Linked DNA regions of Homo sapiens: regions 2 and 3 are each linked to region 1. Evidence: promoter capture Hi-C in human tissues and cell types (Jung and others, 2019). All regions are on one chromosome and are shown on one strand. Each heading gives the region's core, a stretch centred on a gene start or on the middle of the fragment in contact. The rest is flanking DNA. Distances are from core to core; before and after follow the strand shown.

Region 1 (3,161 bases), core at 45-2,544:
ATTGCCATTCTGTTGATGATAATGGCACTATTTTTGAGCACATTATAGCCATTTTGCAAATTCATCCATAACTTAGATTCATCATTATTATGATAATTTTACTCAATTTATTATGGTTTAATTAGAAATCCAGATGGAAACAAAAATATGTCCTTCACAGTTTACAAACCATTGATTTTTCCATCCTTCCTCTCATTAGTAGTTCCCACTTGAAAGTTATTTGGATGTGAATGGAATTAGAAATTTAGACATATGTTTAAAACAACTTTGAATATTTGGATTAAAAAAAGGAAACCAGCATCTTTGTATAATTCATGTTATCATTAAGATTTTTTAAAAAGAAATAAATATTTCAAATATCTACACTATAGCTGAGGGGAAATGGGAGATGAACAAATGTATTTTTGGTTTTTAGTTAGTAGTTCTGTCTTTAACTAGAACGACAGCTTGAAGAAGATCATTTTCCTCTCCTCCAGACCCTAAATTTGACCTAGGGCGGCACTGTTGGAAAATGCCTGATGGTTTGACAGAAGAACTAAAATGGTATTGTCTGGAAACCCTATCTCACTCCCAGAAGGGGATAAAACCTCTCCAAACGCCTTCAATAAGGACTCTGGTGTCCTGTACGCAGCTCAGAAACCTGATTTCAGCTTTTCTAGCAAGTGGAAATGCACAAGATGAAGCCTCAGATACACAAAGATCATTGCTTAGAAGCATCACGGATAAAAACAGTTTAGAAACTCGCTAGCTTCAGACCCGCTAAGGAAATTCAACAAAGTTACAACACAATACAGCCCCGGAGAGGGCTTGGGGGGAACTTTAAGGTGAAGAAAGCGCCCCACATCCCTTGACCAGGTCCCTGCTCTGCAAGCCTGGGGCCACAGCCATCTGTGGTGCAGACATCCAGGGCAGAGAAGCCCCCCAGTGTTGGGCCAGTGACCAAGCGGGTGCCTGTGTAATTAGGAAGGGATTTGAAAAATCCAAGGTGTCGGTCCACAATCGCTAATATGTGTCATCAAGGCAAGCGTTGGGCATTAGAGAGGGGTCGCGCCCCCAAGCGGGGGCCCCCAGACAAACTGGCCCATGCTGTTACCTCTCCCGGCGAGCCCTGTCGGCGGCAGGAACCAGAATCCACCAAGCCCGTCTGCAGCAACAGGTTCTGTCCCTGCTCCGGCTCCAGCTACTTTTCGCAGTCTGCCGGCTCAATCCCAGCCGACGTCTGTCCCCCGCGGACTGCCTGCTCCACTCCAGGCTTCCGCTCCAGGCTGGCCCGCCGCGCTGCTGGACGCTGAGTGCTCTGCGCTCCCTCCCCGCCTCCTTGTCCGGTGCAGATGAGACGTCACTTTCCAGGAGGCACCAGCTGGCCGCTGGGGTTCCGAAGAAGCTATTCATATCCCGCTAAGGGGCACCCAGGTACATTCTTGTGAAACTCAGAATCCGAGCGCGGCAAAGAAAAGGAAGCATCAGTATCACCATTACTTGGCTCCAGATCCTGGGCAAGTGATTTAGCCTCTCTGTGCCTCAGTTTCCTCGTTTGTAAAATAGAGATGATGATGATATTAATCAGTAAGTAATCTGAGAATTATTTGTCTACATGCAAAAGTGCCTGGAATGGTCCTGGTACACATTAATCATTACATTAAATGTGAGCTATCATCATCTTTAAGGTTCTAATGGGACTGAGAGATTCATCGCATATTGCAAACCCTCTCTCTGTCTGAAGCAGACCGTATTTTTTGAGCCTTTGCAAAGATCTTTTAGCTTGCAAGCAAACCCCTCTGAAATTCTGGAAATATATTCACAGCATAATCAGAAATGGAAGGGGAAGAACCCTGGGGAGACTCACAATGATCCTAACAACACTATCTGCCCAGTTGGGTCTTGCTAATAGAGAGATGATGACTAGACTTTAATGGATTAACTTAGAGATTTATACAATTACTAAGAAAGGGATAATTAAAGGTGCTTTAAGCATGAGAAACCTGTGAGGAGCCTTTTAGACCTAATCCTCACGATAGCACTCTAGGTTTGTGAAGAGTTGATATATAATTATTTCCAATTCACACAGAGGCACCAAGGTTTAGTGACTTGTCTAAGATTACAGAGGTGGTATTTAAATGAAAGAAAAGCTCCAGAAGCCAAATTCATTTCTTTATCTGCTACATTTCTCTGCCTATATCACTGGTACACGTGGAATACAGAAAAAAAGCCTATGGTGAGACAGACCTTTTAAAGTAGGATTCCTTGGTCTTGGATTAAAGTTGCAGATTTTGACAAGTGTGTGTGTGTGGTGTGTGTGTTTAATGACTAAATTGAGGCGTATTTCTCCCAAGACTTTACCAAGTTCAAGGTAAGGATACTGGTCCCACTTCTCTAAAGTTTATCAGGATACTCAAGGCACAGAAAGTCATAGAAAAGAAAAAGACGTTAAAGAGATAACACAGGAGTCATAGGATAGAATAATAAGTTAGTTGGGTAAAATAAAACTAAGAAGAGAAAAGCATTTTGTATTCAACCTGAAATTCTCAAATCAAAGTGCAAAAATAATTGTGATTCATTGCTCTACACAGTACCTCATACCACTGGAAAAATAAGTCATTAAAAAGAATGAAAGCAATAGCAACGCTTTTGATGAGACAGTGAGGTAATGTCCAGCTTGCTAGGATTCTATTACAAATTAAAAGAAATATGAAACTTATGTAACAATCATTTAAACTATGATTCCATTTCTGTATCATGAAACAACACACTGCAAGAACTATTCTCCTGCTCCCCACCCCTACCATTCCACCACCACTAAAAACAGTAGACTATATCCATAAGCAGGAGAAAATTATATAAAACTAGGGAAGGACCTGATATGCACCTTTCCCTGAGTACTTCTCCTGTAAACACCTACACACCCTGCTTTAACTTCCATGCATTCATTCATCATTCTTTGCTATAACTGGTTTTAATAGAGGAGCTTGTCTTTCTTTCTCCTAGCTAAAGCCCATGTCTACCATGGTGAGCTTTTCTTCCCACCCTCTCCCGTACTTTCAGGATTCTCACACTCTCTTATATATTTCTTCTCTCCTTGTGAAATGAATTATTCCTGGCTTTTATATATGTCAAGATCTTCCATTTAAAACAAAACAAAATAAAAATCCCACTGTTTTCCT
Region 2 (2,955 bases), core at 251-2,750, 54 kb before region 1:
ATCAGTCCTGACCACTCCTTTCTAAAAAGCAGCAAAGTTCTCCTTTATCTTCAGCCTTATCTAGGGACATTCTCAAATTTCTGTTAAATTTATTACTCAGATATTAGCTTATTTCTCTGAATTCTTTCCTTCCCCATCCTATACAGGGGCTCTCATCCATCACAACTGAAGAAGATTACCTACACAAGACCATCATGTATTAATGCTTAGATTCTTAGCAACCCAGATCACTAGCAAAATTTCTAATTTTGGTTAAAATTTTCCTAGATGACATTTTTAGTCAAATCTATCTTTCCTGTAACAATATCTGTAAATAAAAGGCAATAAGAATTGTATTATCTGCCTTTCCAAAGGAAACAGTAGGAGCCATGGAAATTTATTTTTATATGTTGTGTTTGGATTTTCTTCCCAGAACTTTAGCAACAATGTTAAACAACCAGGCTTTTAGTAAAGCAATTCATAGAATCTCAGGTGAGTCTTAATTTTATTTGTAGCAAGCTGCTGCGTTGACCATAACCCAGATTTTTCAGTGCTTAGAGGTGAATGTTAAATCGAACTCCTACGAGCTGGCATGTACCTTCAAGGCAAAATCCTCACACCAAAATACGTACATCATCAATATAAGCTTAGCGCAAAATGGTCTCTTTCAACCCAAGTTGGTATTTCTGGTGGAGTCTACCACTCTTCTAATGCTAAATGTGAAAATAAAGGCTTTATTTTCTTTTTCTCTCCCAATTTCTCTGTCAGAATGTTTATGCAGATATTACAGACTTGACAAAATACTTACTAACTTTATTATTATTAAATGTGCATATCATAGTTTATCAACAGTTCAGTAATCTAGGAAATATATTTTTGTGTTCCCATGGGATGCATAACTCTTTATTAAACATGGTGTCATCTTACATTTATATGGAGCTCAATCTCTACCAACAATTGTTTTACTATTTATTCTGCATTAGCAATCAACTGTTCCAAAATATTTTTTATTTAAGGGGATCCATTATTGAAGGATAGCATACAATATGGTTAATGAGATTTTAAAGTATTCTGGATACTAAACAGAACTAACTAATGTAAATCATTAATTTCAACTTTTTTCTCTGTTAACTAGTTAAAAATACTGAAGTGAATAGACATATAGTTATTTCCTTATAATCATCAAGAAAATCAGAATAAACATATAAATTACATATTTAATAACTAAATTTTCACAAGACCCTTACTTAATTAAGACCTAATTTTTAATTGTCAGTTTGCTAGCTTACATTCTAAGAGGTTCTAAATAGAGCACTATAGGTGGCAAAAATAGCTGAAAATAACGTAGCCTGCTTACAGTGAGACAGAAATACAGAGTTATTAGTGATATCCATGTTCTGGTCCATCAGACTGCTATCTACGTAAGATGACTGCTACCTACTTAGGAGAGCTTAAGAAAGCTGAAACCATTACCACACTGCAAAACAACAAGGATCTAAACCTTTTTTTATGGACTTCGCTAGTTCACAGACTATTTATTTAAATTTATTTTCAACCTTCAATATAAAGCAATGATTGCTGCATTAATCAACAAATGAGAATAGGGCATACCAAGGAAAACACATTTATTTTACACTTACAATGTGCTTGGTATTTAGTAATCTTCTATCCATTATTTAATATAAAGAATGCTCATAATAACCTTGTGATGTGATAACCAATGGCACATTGATAACGAGTGATCATTATTGAGCATCTTCTTGGTATGTATCAAGCAAATCAGACAAAGCACCTGCTCTCTTCCAGTTTATAAGACAAAGAAATCCATGTTTTCCCTCCATTGTTTCTTCTTAGATTTTGGCTTGCTGTGACAATATGTATATACACTAAACTTGTACTTTTAGGACTTACCAAAAAGATAATTTAATTTTTAACCATTAGTTTCATTTAAAAACTTTAGTTTGCTGTAAAAAAATCATGTGCTGAAGAGTGGGATGGAAATGTAGTCAGTGTAGGAGGGTTCAGAGGCTTTTTTAAAAATTACATAACTAGCATTTCTTTACATCTGGATTGTCCCATCAGCCTACTTAATTGAACCTAACATAATTTAGTTGTCCTCCTTAATCAGTAATGATGTCAATAAAAAGTGAAACAATTTAATGGTAGAATACCATTTGCCTAGGCAATTATGCAGAAACAACTCTGAAATGAAAGGTTTTATGCTATGAGGATCTCAACATGGCATACATTTAGTTGAACAAAAGAAGAAGTAGATTAAGGCATGTAAGAGAAAGAGAAAAAACATAAAATATATGCTGGGGAAAAAAAAGCTTGTGGCTGAAGCTTGAAATGCAAAATATACATATAAAAAACAAGAATCCAAGTTACGAGCCCTTTGTCTCAAAAGACTTTCTTCCCTTGTCCTTCACAGCTGAAGATTGCTCAGATTTCACAGGATTTTGACACTGCTATTATATAAGATACGAAACTGAGAGCAAACAATAACTCCATGTTCAGCTGAGAGCCACCTCATGTCAGTTGAAATAGCTACCAAAAAAACTAATATGGGCTGAAGAATGTGGAAAATAGTACTAACTAGTATTAACATTTGTTGGTATCTGTCTTTTCATCCCATACATTTCTAGTTTTACTCTTAGAAGATTTACCATTATTTTATGAAATGTCTTAATGACTTTTTTTTTAAGCACATTATTCTCAACTAATAGTTCTCGAATAAAGAACAGCATGATTGTCTGTAATTTTTGGATTCCACCTAATGCAGAGTCTAAAACAAGGACTTGGATGCCATATTTGGGAGGCAATTACAGGAAGCAAGAGTGAGTGAACAGGGTAAATGAGAAAGTGAAAGAAGAAAACTCAATAAAGTCCAGTTTTCCAGCTGCCTAGTGCTGTGGGCGAAAAGAGCTCTCTGAGTAAATATGTGGAAATCATGACCTGTGGCCAGGGCATTTATCT
Region 3 (3,199 bases), core at 355-2,854, 56 kb after region 1:
GTGCCTCCTGGGTTCAAGCGATTCTCCTGCCTCACCTCCCGAGTAGCTGGGATTACAGGCATGCGCCACCACGCCCAGCTAATTTTGTATTCTTAGTAGAGACGGGATTCTCCATGTTGGTCAGGCTGGTCTTGAACTCCTGACCTCAGGTGATCCACCCCCTCGGCCTCCCAAAATGCTGGGATTACAGGCGTGAGCTACTGCATCCTGCCACAGTCTTCAATTTGTTGCCAGTTAAACCTCATTAAAGTATCTCCTTTACAATGCCATGCATCTGTTGTCACAGTTCAATCCCTGGGCAGGAGTTTTCTTTTTCTCTACAGTTATGTACATTTTACTCAATTCCCAATGAGCAGCCACCACTTCCATGAAATCTTCAGTGATCAATAAAACTAGAAATAATCTTCCTGCTTCTGTATGACTATGAAATTTTTTACATCAGTCACATGTGATTTAAATCACCAGTTTTGATCTTATTTAGACATATCTCATCCCTTATAAATTGTAAGCTCCCAGAAAGCAAGGTCCATGTATTTACTTTCAACACCCAGCAGAGTGTTGCAACTTAAAATATATATATTTCTTGAACAAACAAATAATCACTTTGAATCCCCTTATCCAGTAAATTCTTCCACATTATAAATTATATAAGACCAGCCACTTAAATGCTGTCAGCCCTGAGGAAAAGACAGAGAGAGGTTCATAAACTTCAGAAATAAAATGTCTCCCTAGGGAATTGAACATATTTTATTTGTTTACAGGTTAGAAAGCTAAAGTGTTATAAAATATTCAACATGTTCTGGGCCCAAGGGAATCACTAGATTGTAATAAAACATATTAACATTGTCATCTTAGAATAAAGTAGAATTTTTAAAGCTTAGAATGATGATTATTGCAAGTATGCTTCTGAGACCAGAGAATTATTTTTACATTAATTAAATTTAATAATACTCTGCTGAAATTGTTATTCTGAAAGGACATTACCACACATTACCAATTCATATGGCTTTATAAAAGGAAAATAATTATTTTCATCTTCTACAGTGATAAATGGGCTTATATTACAGCAACAGAAGTAGCATCTTTAATTTCTAAGATATTCAGGTAAAAAAATTATTCCAGAAAAGAGAAACATACAGAAAATGAGTGTTTGTTTTGTGATGAGTGTTTATTGAGCATTTACTCTCCCGGGCACTTTTCCAGACTCAGGAAGTATATATAATGAGAAGAAATCATAATTCCTGCTTTCGAAGAGCTTACAGCTTGGGATGGACAAAGCCTTCTAAATTATGTAAAAAATAAATTTCAAGATAACACACAGTTAAATGGTAAAATGCTCTAAGAATACAAATAGAAGTGAAACTCATTGGGTTTTTTAGTGGACAGAGCTTCATGGCAGGGGTTATATTAACGAAGAGTATCCTCAATCTTTAATGAATATAACTAGAAAAGAGAGAATTCTAGGAAAGTAAACCAAAGCATGAAAGTACACTTGAGCCGAGTAACATTGTGATGGAAAACAAATGAATTTGGGAAATTTATGTGTATCTTGTAAATTCAGGTAAAAGTCTAGATGAAAGAAATAAAGCTAATGAATACTTAAATTTTCCAAATTGTGTATTTTCCCATCATTTAGTAAGTATTATTATGGAAAAGTATAATAATAGTATCCAGGAAATATTAAATCTGTATCTTCTAAAAGCTCATTTTACTCCTGAAATCTGGCTATATTTGTTAAGAGTTAATTCAAAATTAGTTGAAATTTTCTTATTCTTATGGGCCCAATCATTCATGTATTCATTATTTCATTCAATAATTTTTTTTAATGTTTGCTACATTCTAAAGTGAGGCCTGCGTGAATTCATTTAATAGCTGTCAAGGACATTTTGTCATATGATGAGGATCTGTTAGGGGTGCACCTGGTACCCACTTTGTGTGGAAAGAAAAGTATCCAGAGGTGAAAATGTAAATGGATTCCTGGACAGTGACAAGAGTCCTGGCCAGCTGGTCAGAAACCTGGAAGGAAAAGCCGGAAAGATTGGAGACAAAGAGTTGTGGGGGAGAGCCTAGTGGTGGAAACATGGTAATGTGCACAAGTATCAAAAGTTTGGTACCACATGTTAATGCATTCTAGAAATCTTCTACCCTGGAAGGACCACTAAGCAACCAATCTGCCAGTTGATTTTACCTTTTTTCATTGGTCATTCCAGAACAAGTAATATCATAAATATTAACTTTTTGCTTCCCCTTCCTTTCTTTTAGATTCTTGAAACTAATACAATACTTCCCCCTTATCCATGGTTTTTCTCTCCAAGGTTTCAGTTAGCCATGGTCAACCCTAGTCTAAAAATATTAAATGAAAAATTCCAGAAATAAACAATTCATAGGCTTTTTTTTCCTTTTTTTGTTATTTAGTTTATTATTTGTGGCTTATTTCTATCCAAGAAAGAAGATAAATTTTAAATTACATGCTATTCTGAGTAGTGTGATGAAATCTCACACCATTCTGTTCCATTCCAGGGACGTGAATCATCCCTTTGACCAGCATCTCCACTCTGTCAATGCTCTCTGCCTCTTAGCCACTTACTCGCTGGCTCTATTATCAGATCAGCTTTCAAGGTACCGCAGTGCTTGTGCTCAAGTAACCTTTATTTGACTTAATAATGGCCACAAAGCAGAAAAAATAGTGATGCTGGCAATTCAGATACGCCAAAGAGAACCCTTAAAGTCCTTCCTTAAAGTGTTAAGGTGAAAGTTCTCAATTTAATAAGTAATATGCTGGGGTTGCTAAGATCTGTCAGAACAAATCTTCTATCCACAAAATTGTGAAAAAGGAAAAAAAATTGTATGCAAGTTTTGCTGTCACACTTCAAACTGCAGAAGTTATGGCCAGAGTGCATGATGAGTGCTTAAGGAAAAGGCATTATATTTGTGGGTGGAAGACATGAACAGAAACATGTATCGATTAACAGCAATTGGGTTCAGTACTGTCTGTGGTTTCAGGCTCCCACTGGGGTTATATCTTAGGATATGTTTCTCATGCCTGTTTCAAAGCAAATACTATTTGAGCAGAAGTGATAAAACATTGAACTCACTCTTTTCTCTTATACCCAAGTATTATCTCCAAAGAATGAGATTTACTAAGTGACAGGTTTATAAGATGGCAAAAGTAATGTACTTGAATTCTGGGGAAAGAACG

Evidence for each region. Contacts are between HindIII fragments. The study calls those that stand out against the background at their distance.
Region 2: a fragment that was not itself captured here is called in contact with the fragment with the promoter of NPFFR2 in region 1 in 2 of the 25 tissues and cell types used here (heart right ventricle and small bowel).
Region 3: a fragment that was not itself captured here is called in contact with the fragment with the promoter of NPFFR2 in region 1 in 2 of the 25 tissues and cell types used here (mesendoderm cells and thymus).

The regions. Positions count from the first base shown.
Region 1 is chr4:72,030,133-72,033,293 of GRCh38, reverse strand. NPFFR2 (neuropeptide FF receptor 2) reads right to left here and starts at 1,294. Exons shown (of 4, transcript NM_004885.3): 1 at 1,094-1,294. RefSeq lists an enhancer at 1,083-1,685. The HindIII fragment of the contact is 5,305 bases long and covers 1-3,161 here.
Region 2 is chr4:72,084,782-72,087,736 of GRCh38, reverse strand. The region is part of intron 1 of NPFFR2 (neuropeptide FF receptor 2); the gene reads right to left. Among named protein-coding and RNA genes, the nearest start is that of NPFFR2, 54 kb to the right of the region's middle. The HindIII fragment of the contact is 5,357 bases long and covers 1-2,955 here.
Region 3 is chr4:71,974,246-71,977,444 of GRCh38, reverse strand. No RefSeq gene overlaps it. Among named protein-coding and RNA genes, the nearest start is that of NPFFR2, 56 kb to the left of the region's middle. The HindIII fragment of the contact is 5,388 bases long and covers 1-3,199 here.